Linked DNA regions of Homo sapiens: region 2 is linked to region 1. Evidence: promoter capture Hi-C in 16 types of primary human blood cells and fetal thymus (Javierre and others, 2016). All regions are on one chromosome and are shown on one strand. The core of a region is centred on a gene start or on the middle of the fragment in contact, and the rest is flanking DNA. Distances in the headings are between cores, read along the strand shown.

Region 1 (4,070 bases), core at 404-2,903:
AGAGGCCGCTCAGAAAGCCTGAGCAGACGGAGCTTGGCACCTTCCCTCCAAAACAGCTCCTCCTGCTGGGTTCCTTTCTCAACGCGAGACACCCCCAACCAGGCAGGCTCTCAGCCCAGAAAAGGTCTGGGGAGGCCATGGCCAGAGCCCAGGTGCACAGACAAGGTGGGACTCACCACCCAGGGGGACACACAGACTCTGTCACTGGCCAGGGAGGAGGCAGGCAGTAGGCAGGGAGGTGCTGAAATGGCAGAGAGGCTGGCAAGAGATACGTTGGTGCTGGAATGGAGCTGCCTTCTCTGCTGCTTGTATGAGTCCCAACAGCAGCTCTGGTCAGATCCAGCATTTTCTCACTTTCACTAGGGCTGTAGCCCCAAAATAAATCTTTAGAAGTGGTGGCTGTGTAAATCAGCAGCATTTTGGAATTATATCTCTTGATGGATTTGATCGATAGCTAACTGCCTCCCCCACTAAACCCAGAGCTCCGTGACAGCAGGGAAGGCAAACTTCAAAAATATCAAAAAGCACAACCTTATTAAAAAGGAGAAACACCCCCAGTTCACCAGGAGCACCTTGGATTCAGCTGCTCCTGCCAAGGGTCTGAACTGCACGGGGGAATGGAGAGAAACAGGTCACGTGGGCCGGGGTCTCTGGGCCCGCTGTGGGGGTGTCAGTTTGCTCATAGGTGGAGACACTCGATGTGACATTAACAGCACCTTCAAGCCCAAGGACCCAGAGATTCTGACACAAGAACTGAGAACTGATTGCATTTCCGTGACTCAGCGACACCCTCCTACCTGGGCATGAACCCAGCCCTAGCCAAAGATCCAGAGACCCGACTCCCATCTATTTCCTTTTCCTCTCTCCCTCCCCGTCACCAATTCTACTGGTCAGATGTCCCTGGGATGCACCTGTCCTCCCCAGCCCCTCCGTTCCCATCGGAGTTCAGGCCTCATCATCTCCTGCCTGGACCATTAGCCTCTTAACTGGCCCCTCCGCTTCCAGGCTCCCTTCCATATATCCGGGTTCCACCCCGGGGGCCATTCTAAAAGGCAGATCAGGCCCATCCCAGTCTGGCCAGCGGCTCCACATTCACTCAGACTCACATCCTGGACCCATGGTCGGGCATTAGAGACCTGCCACGATTCAACATTCCACGGCCTTTCCAGCTTAGGTCCTCATCTCACACTCCCTCTCCTCTGAGCTCCCCCTGGGAGACTTACAGACACCCCGACGCTTGGCAAGGCCATAGGATGTTTTTGTTTGGTTTGGTTTGGTTTTTCTGAGACAGTCTCACTCTGTCACCCAGGCTGGAGTGCAGTGGCACGATCTTGGCTCACTGCAACCTCCGAAGGCCATAGGATGTTTGGGTCATTCCCTGGGGAGTCCTGTCAGGCCAGGAACGAGGGGACCCTGGGAACAAGGTGCTGAGTGGCATCAGGGTCTCTGCCTGCAGGCGGGGGATGTGTCTGGGTCGTGGTTGATGGGAAGAACCTGACCATAGATTCCCCATGCAGAGCTGACGATTAGCAATTAACTGGGAGGAATCTCAGGGGTGAGGTTAATTGGGGGACAGAGGGAGGGCAGCTAGGGTTCCAGGGACTTTGCCCTTGACCCAAGAGTATAAAGAGGAGGGTCTCAGTTCTCCTCAGGGTCCTGGAGGCTTCATTGAGCTGCTGAGCAGAAGCTGAAACACAGAATTCTAAGGTGAGCCCAGGACCCTCACATCCCAACCCCACCCCCAGCTCTGAGTAGGAAACAGCCCAGCACCCCAGCCCCTTCATCTGTGTCCTATCTGCGCCCACCCCCACCGCGCCCCATATAACATGTCAGTCCAGCCAATCGCGGTGGCTCCCACCTGTAATCCCAGCACTTTGGGAAGCCGAGTGGGCGGATCACCTGAGGTCGAGTTTGCACTAAAAATACAAAAAATTAGCCAGGTGTGGTGGCAGGCACCTGTAATCCCAGCTACTTGGGAGGCTGAGGCAGGAGAATCGCTTGAACCCACGAGGCAGAGGTTGCAGTGAGCCAAGATTGTGCCACTGCACTCCAGCCTGGGCGGTAAGAGTGAAACTCCATCTCAAAAAAAAAAAAAAAAAGGACTCCTGCTCCTTCAGGACTTGAATTCAACTCTTCACACCCCTACAACAGCCAAGGACGCTGGGACAATGCGGGGAGTGCTGAGGCAGATCAGGGCACTCCACCCCAATAGCCAAGACTCCTGGGGCAGTGCGGGGACAAGGGGGGGCTGAGGCAAGCCTGTCAGTGTTTGTTCATTGCCCCTTGAGGGGGTGGATGGGGAAAGGAATTCATTGTGAGGGGAACCCAGGAACTCGGGATCCGGCCCAGGGGATCTCCGTGTGTGCCCAGCTGACCCCATGAGAAGGCAGGTGTCTGCAGCTCCTCCTTGCTCTCCAGGTGGGCAAAACTGAAGCCCGGCCCAGCCCCAGCCCACACCTGCAGCCACTGCCAACACCACGTATTCCCTGGCCCCCTCCAGCCCCAAACAGGCTGGGCGTCCTCAGTTCTCAGTGTCTTTTATCAATGCTATATCCAAGCCTCTGGTTCGGAGCCTGGGCTAGAGCTCAATAATACTCATTGAATGAGTGAATGGTGAATGAATGATCACCTCACCACCACCACACACACCCCTCCGAGACTCACATGCAGGTGCCCAGCACAGATGTGCACATGTGAGTCTGCATGTGAGTCTCGGAGGGCTGTGGTGGTGATGATGGAGGGTGTGGTTTGCTGGGTGTGTGTTTGTGCGTGTGAGTCTCGGAGGGGTGTGTGTGTGTGGTGAGGATGGAGGGTGTGCTTTGCTAGGTGTGTATTTGGAATCATGCGCCATGGGGGTTTGTGCAGGTGAGGGTGTGTGGGCATGAGTGTCCCGGACACAGCTATTGTCATTCAGCGTTGCTGAGACCCACTGACCTGCAGACCTCATAGTGGGTGCCCAGGATGTTGTCCTACGGAGAGAGGCTGGGGTCCCCTGCTGTCTCCCCACTCCCAGTCCGTGGGGGGCATGTGATGCGAGGGACGGCCTTTGCCTACGTGCCCAGCCCTCAGGGTAAGTGCTGCTCCCACACCCTGGACCCTGGTTGCCCACGGTTGCCCACATCCCGGATGAGGCCACTTCCCCCGCCTGTTCCTCCCCGCCTCCCCACTTTGGGGCCCTGGGGCTCCTGACCAGGCTCCCTCCCTAGTCCTACACAGGATCCCGGGGACCTCTGCCTATGCCTTCCCCAGCCTGGGCCCTGTGGCCCTTGCTGAGCACACCTGCCCCTGTGGGGAGGTCCTGGAGCGCCATGAACCACTGCCTGCCAAGCTGGCCCTGGAGGAGGAGCAGAAGCCAGGTGGGCCTGGGCTGGGGGTGGCAGAGGCGGCAGCAGTCCCTGCCCTGGCCTCTGCCCACTATGCTCATGGCTTCCCCCATCCAGAGTCCAGGCTGGTCCCCAAGCTGCGCCAGGCTGGCGCCATGCTGCTCAAGGTGCCACTGATGCTCACCTTCCTCTACCTCTTCGTCTGCTCCCTGGACATGCTCAGCTCGGCCTTCCAGCTGGCTGGAGGTAGGGCCCGGGTGGAGGAGACCTGGGAGGGGTTCCTGAAGGGCCTTGGACAACGCTGGCTCATGCTCCCCAGGGAAGGTGGCTGGTGACATCTTCAAGGATAACGCCATCCTGTCCAACCCGGTGGCCGGGCTGGTGGTGGGGATCCTGGTGACCGTGCTGGTGCAGAGCTCCAGCACCTCCACATCCATCATCGTCAGCATGGTCTCCTCTGGCTGTGAGTTGGCCCACCAGGGTGGGGAAGAGCTTGGAGGGGCACCCCAGGAGCTGGGAAGGGTGGCAAATGGGGAGCGTGACCCCAGTAAGGCTGGCCTCCATTCAGCTTGACTCCTGTATCAGCCAGGGACATGAGAGGAGCCCAACTGTAGCTGTATGTGACCCAGATGATTTATGGCAAGGAACTGGCTTCCCCGATGGTAGTTTGTCTGGGCAAGTCAGGAATCCGTAGGCCAGGGCATTGGAAGGGCAGGCGGGAACTCTCAGGTGGGCGCCGACACTGCA
Region 2 (4,335 bases), core at 85-2,584, 800 kb after region 1:
TGAGTCATCAAATTGTTTAGAAGCCATTCAAGGCACTTTTTCTTTACAGAATCTAATCCATAGATCTCTACTGATGTGTAATAACCGCATACAGTTTTCACATTAATTGTTTCCTTCATTGTCTCACCACACTGCTGTATTAAACCATCCAGCTGCAGCATACAAGCTGCTGCCAAAATGGCAACAACTCGACTGGGTTTTATCAAGACATCATCTCGATACAGTGAACCAAACGCAACCTGCAGTGCGTCTACATCAATGTTCTGGTCAGGAATCTCCAGTTCAATAATATTCATGCTGGATTCTTTCCAAGAACCACTGAACATACTAGAAAAGTAGCCAGATTGACATAAATATATTTTGTGTAATCGCCATTCTTCTCCTAGAGCACAAATCTTAATGTCACTGTTTTCACCATTCAAAAATAATGTTTGATAAATATATTTGGATGTACTCCTTAATTTTTTCCTTGCAGGGGTGTTGAGGAGCGGCTGCTGCTTGTCCCCCTCCTCCTCATGCTCCTCCCTGTGCGAGTCCGGGTCACAGTAGCGGCAGGCCCCGCTGCTCCGCTTGCGCTTGTGACTGCCCGGGCAGTAACAGAAGCCGTAGCTCGCCGCATCGTCTCCAGTGTCCGGCCTCCGGGCCGAGCCCCTGGCCCTGGCACCCTGTTCCTGCTGGGCAAGGGCTCGCCTCGGCTGGCCCAGCACCCGGCTGCTCGACGATCCCATGGGTCACGGCTCCCCAGGACTTCAGGGAGCCCAGAGGAGGGGGTCTCTGGCCATGGCCCGGCCGCCGCCGCCAGCCTTCCCCGAGCACAGGTGCCTACACCGCCACCTTCTCACGCGCAGCCCCAACCGTTGCAGCGGACACTGCCGCCTCCAACCTCCGCACCCCTCCCCCACAATTTTTTTTTTTTTTTTTTTTTGAGACGGAGTCTTGCTCTGTCGCCCAGGCTGGAGTGCAGTGGCGCGATCTCGGCTCACTGCAACCTCTGCCTCGCGGGTTCAAGTGATTCTCCTGCCTCAGCCTCCTGAGTAGCTGGGATTACAGGCGCCCGCCACCACACCTGGGTAATTTTTGTATTTTTAGTAGAGGCGGGGTTTCCCCATGTTGGCCAGGCTGGTCTCAAACTCCTGACTTCAGGTGATCCTCTTACCTTGGCCTCCCAAAGTGCTGGGACTACAGGCGTGAGCCACTGCCTCCGGCCTAAAACAATTTCTTTTAGAGACAAGGTTTCACTGTGTTTCTCCGGGTGGTCTTGAACTCCTTGGACAGCATTCTTCATTGCTGGAAGCAATTCTCATCTGGCAGCCAAAACCAAGGTCCGTTTTAGAAGGACCACTTCCCTAGGAGCAAAGTTTTATTTGCAAGACCTGACAAAGGAAAATGTGTGTACCAGACGCTTGAGCCTAACCAGTCCAATGTAAATTTGCGACCAGGCACAAAAATAAAATAAAATAATAAAATAAAATAGGCCAGGCTCGGTGGCTCATGCCTATAATCCCAGCACTTTGGGAGGCCAAGGTGGGTGGATCACATGAGGTCAGGAGTTTGAGACTGGCCTGGCCAACATGGTGAAACCCCATCTCTACTAATAATATAAAATTTAGCCAGGTGTGGTGGTGCACGCCTGTAATCCCAGCTTTTCGGGAGGCTGAAATGGAGAACTGCTTGAACCCAGGAGGCAGAAGTTGCAGTGAGCCAAGATCGCATCATTACATTCCAGCCTGGGCGACAAGAGCGAAATTCCGTCTCCAGAAAAAAATAATAAGATAAAATAAAATAGAATAAAGACTTGAAGTCAAGCCAGGTACGGTGGCTGCTCACACCTGTAATCCCAGCACTTTGGGAGGCCGAGGTGGGCAGATCACGAGGTCAGGAGTTCAAGACCAGCCTGGCCAATATGGTGAAAGTGACCATGGCTGGGTGAAATGATCACTGCAGCCGGTCTGGGAAGGCAGAAGCAAGCAGAGGGCCTGGGCAGGATAGGCAGGGATTCTCTGTGGGGAGGATCTGTGGAGACAGGGGCAGCAGGATTAGGATGTCGGAATTGAGGAGGCTTTTGTCCTTGGGGGATGGAGTGGAGAAGTGGGGCATGGTCCTGGAAATTTGCCCTGCAGCCTCACCAGGCCATCTGGAAGCTACTTGTTGGGAACCCCGTGTGTGTAAAGGGCTGACCCAGGCCCAGACCCGGAGGAACTGGAGAAGGGCACACACTGAGACCACCCGAGGGGTGTGCTGGAACTGCTTGGCCAGTCCTTGGGGATGGGATGGCTGGGGCATGTGGGTGTCTTCCTGTAAGAAAACAGGACTTGATGAGGAAGGTGGGAGGCTGTTCCAGGCAGATGGAGGTCTGTGCCCCCAGAGCAATGTAGGAGTCGCCATGCGGGGCTCCATCTTTGGTACAGTGGGGGCAGAGATTGGCGAGGGGCATCAGGGCCAGATATGTAGGTGTGGGGAGCCCTAGATGGGCCAGTGCTGCAGGGGGAGGCAAGGTCATGCCAGGGAGGTGGATGGGACGCTGGACACAAGTGAAGAGTGACCAGCCCTGTGGCTTCCTCAAACCTATGTGAGTGCCTGCCCCATTCCCAGATGAAGAAAACAGAGGTTTCAATAGGGAAAGTGACTTGTTCTAAATCCCAGAGTTGGGAAGTCAGGAAGCTCAGCCTCCTGATTCCAAAGGCAAATCTGGAGTTTCTGTTGGAGTTAAGGGGCCAGGTGAATGGTCTATGTTGACCAAAAAAAAAAAAAAAAAAAAAAAAAAGCTCTGTAAAATGTTTAAAGAAGTTTATTCTCTGGCGTGAACCCGGGAGGCAGAGCTTGCGCCACTGCACTCCAGCCTGGGTGACAGAGCGAGACTCCATCTCAAAAAAAAAAAAAAAAAAAGAAGTTTATTCTCAGCTGATATGAGTGACCATGACCTGGGGTACAGTCTCAAGAGGTCCTGAGAAAGTGTGCCTCAGATGGTTGGGTTATAGTTTGGTTTTATACATTTTAGGGAGACAGAGGTTACAAGCAAATACATCAATCAATACATGTAAAGTACACATTGCTTCAGCCTATAAGGGCAGGACAACTCCAGGGGAGTTACAGGTCATAGGTGATTCAAAGGTTTTCTGATTGGCAATTGGTTGAAAAAGTTAAGCTTTGTCTAAAGAGTTGAAGTGGCTGGGTACAATGACTGACATCTGTAATCCCAGCACTTTGAGAGGCCGAGGAGGATGGCTTGATCCCAGGAGTTTTCAACAAGCCTGGGCAGCGTAGTGAGACCCGGTGTCTACAAAAAAATTTTAAAAATTAATTGGGCATCGTGATGTGCACCTGTAGTCCCAGCTACTTGGGAGGCTAAGGTGGGAGGATTACTTAAGCCCAGGAGGTCGAGCCTATGGTGAGCCATGACTGTGACACTGCATTCCAACTCGGGGGACAGAATGAGACCCTGTCTCAAAAATAAAATAAAACAGGCCAGTTGCAGTAGCTCACACCTGTAATCCCAGCACTTTGGGAGGCCAAGGCAGATGGATCACTTGAGGTCAGGAGTTCAATACCAGCCTGGCCAATATGGTGAAACCCCATCTCTACTAGAAATAGAAAAATTAACTGGGAGTGGTGGCATGCATCTGTAATCCCAGCTACTCTGGAGCCTGAGGCAGGATAATTGCCTGAACCTGGGAGGTGGATGTTGCAGTTAGCCGAGGTCGCACCATTGCACTCCAGCCTGGGCAACAAGAGTGAAACTCCATCTCCAAAAAAAATAGTAAGATAAAATAAAATAAAGAGTTGAAGGCATGGTGGCTCACGCCTGTAATCCCAGCAGTTTGGAGGCCAAGGAGGGCAGATCACGAGGTCAGGAGTTCGAGACCAGCCTGGCCAATATGGTGAAACCCTGTCTCTACTAATAGTACAAAAATTAACTGGGTGTGGTAGCACACATCTGTAGTCTCAGCTACTCTGGAGGCTGAAGCAGGAGAATCGCTTGAACCCAGGGAGGTGGAGGTTGCATTGCACTCCAGCCTGGGCGACAGAGCGAGATTCCATCTCAAAAAAAAAAAAAAAAGCGTTGAAGTCAGTGGGAAGAAATGCTTGGGTTAAGAAAGGGGTTGTGGAAGCTGAGGTTCTTGTTACGTAGATGAAGCCTCCAGGTAGCAGCCCTCAGAATAGATAGTGAATGTCTCTTTTCAGACCTTCAAAAGTCTCAGACTCTCATTGAATCTCTCCTAAATCTGACAAAGTCCTGGCTACATTAATGGAAATTCTCTACAGATGCAAATTTCCCCCATGGGAGACAGCTTTGCAGGGCCATTTCAAAATATTGTCAAATAAATATATTTTGGG

Evidence for each region. The method cuts DNA at HindIII sites, captures the fragments that hold promoters and counts their contacts. A CHiCAGO score of 5 or more calls a contact.
Region 2: a fragment that was not itself captured here is called in contact with the fragment with the promoter of SLC34A1 in region 1 in 1 of 17 cell types (naive B cells); the score reaches 5.1 in naive B cells.

What each region holds. Positions count from the first base shown.
Region 1 is chr5:177,382,781-177,386,850 of GRCh38, forward strand. It overlaps SLC34A1 (solute carrier family 34 member 1), which reads left to right and starts at 1,654. Exons shown (of 13, transcript NM_003052.5): 1 at 1,654-1,707; 2 at 2,915-3,070; 3 at 3,207-3,356; 4 at 3,441-3,569; 5 at 3,643-3,786. The coding sequence starts at 2,962. The HindIII fragment of the contact is 19,795 bases long and covers 1-4,070 here.
Region 2 is chr5:178,186,572-178,190,906 of GRCh38, forward strand. It overlaps GMCL2 (germ cell-less 2, spermatogenesis associated), which reads right to left and starts at 800. Exons shown (of 1, transcript NM_001358008.2): 1 at 1-800. The coding sequence starts at 728. The HindIII fragment of the contact is 3,617 bases long and covers 1-3,143 here.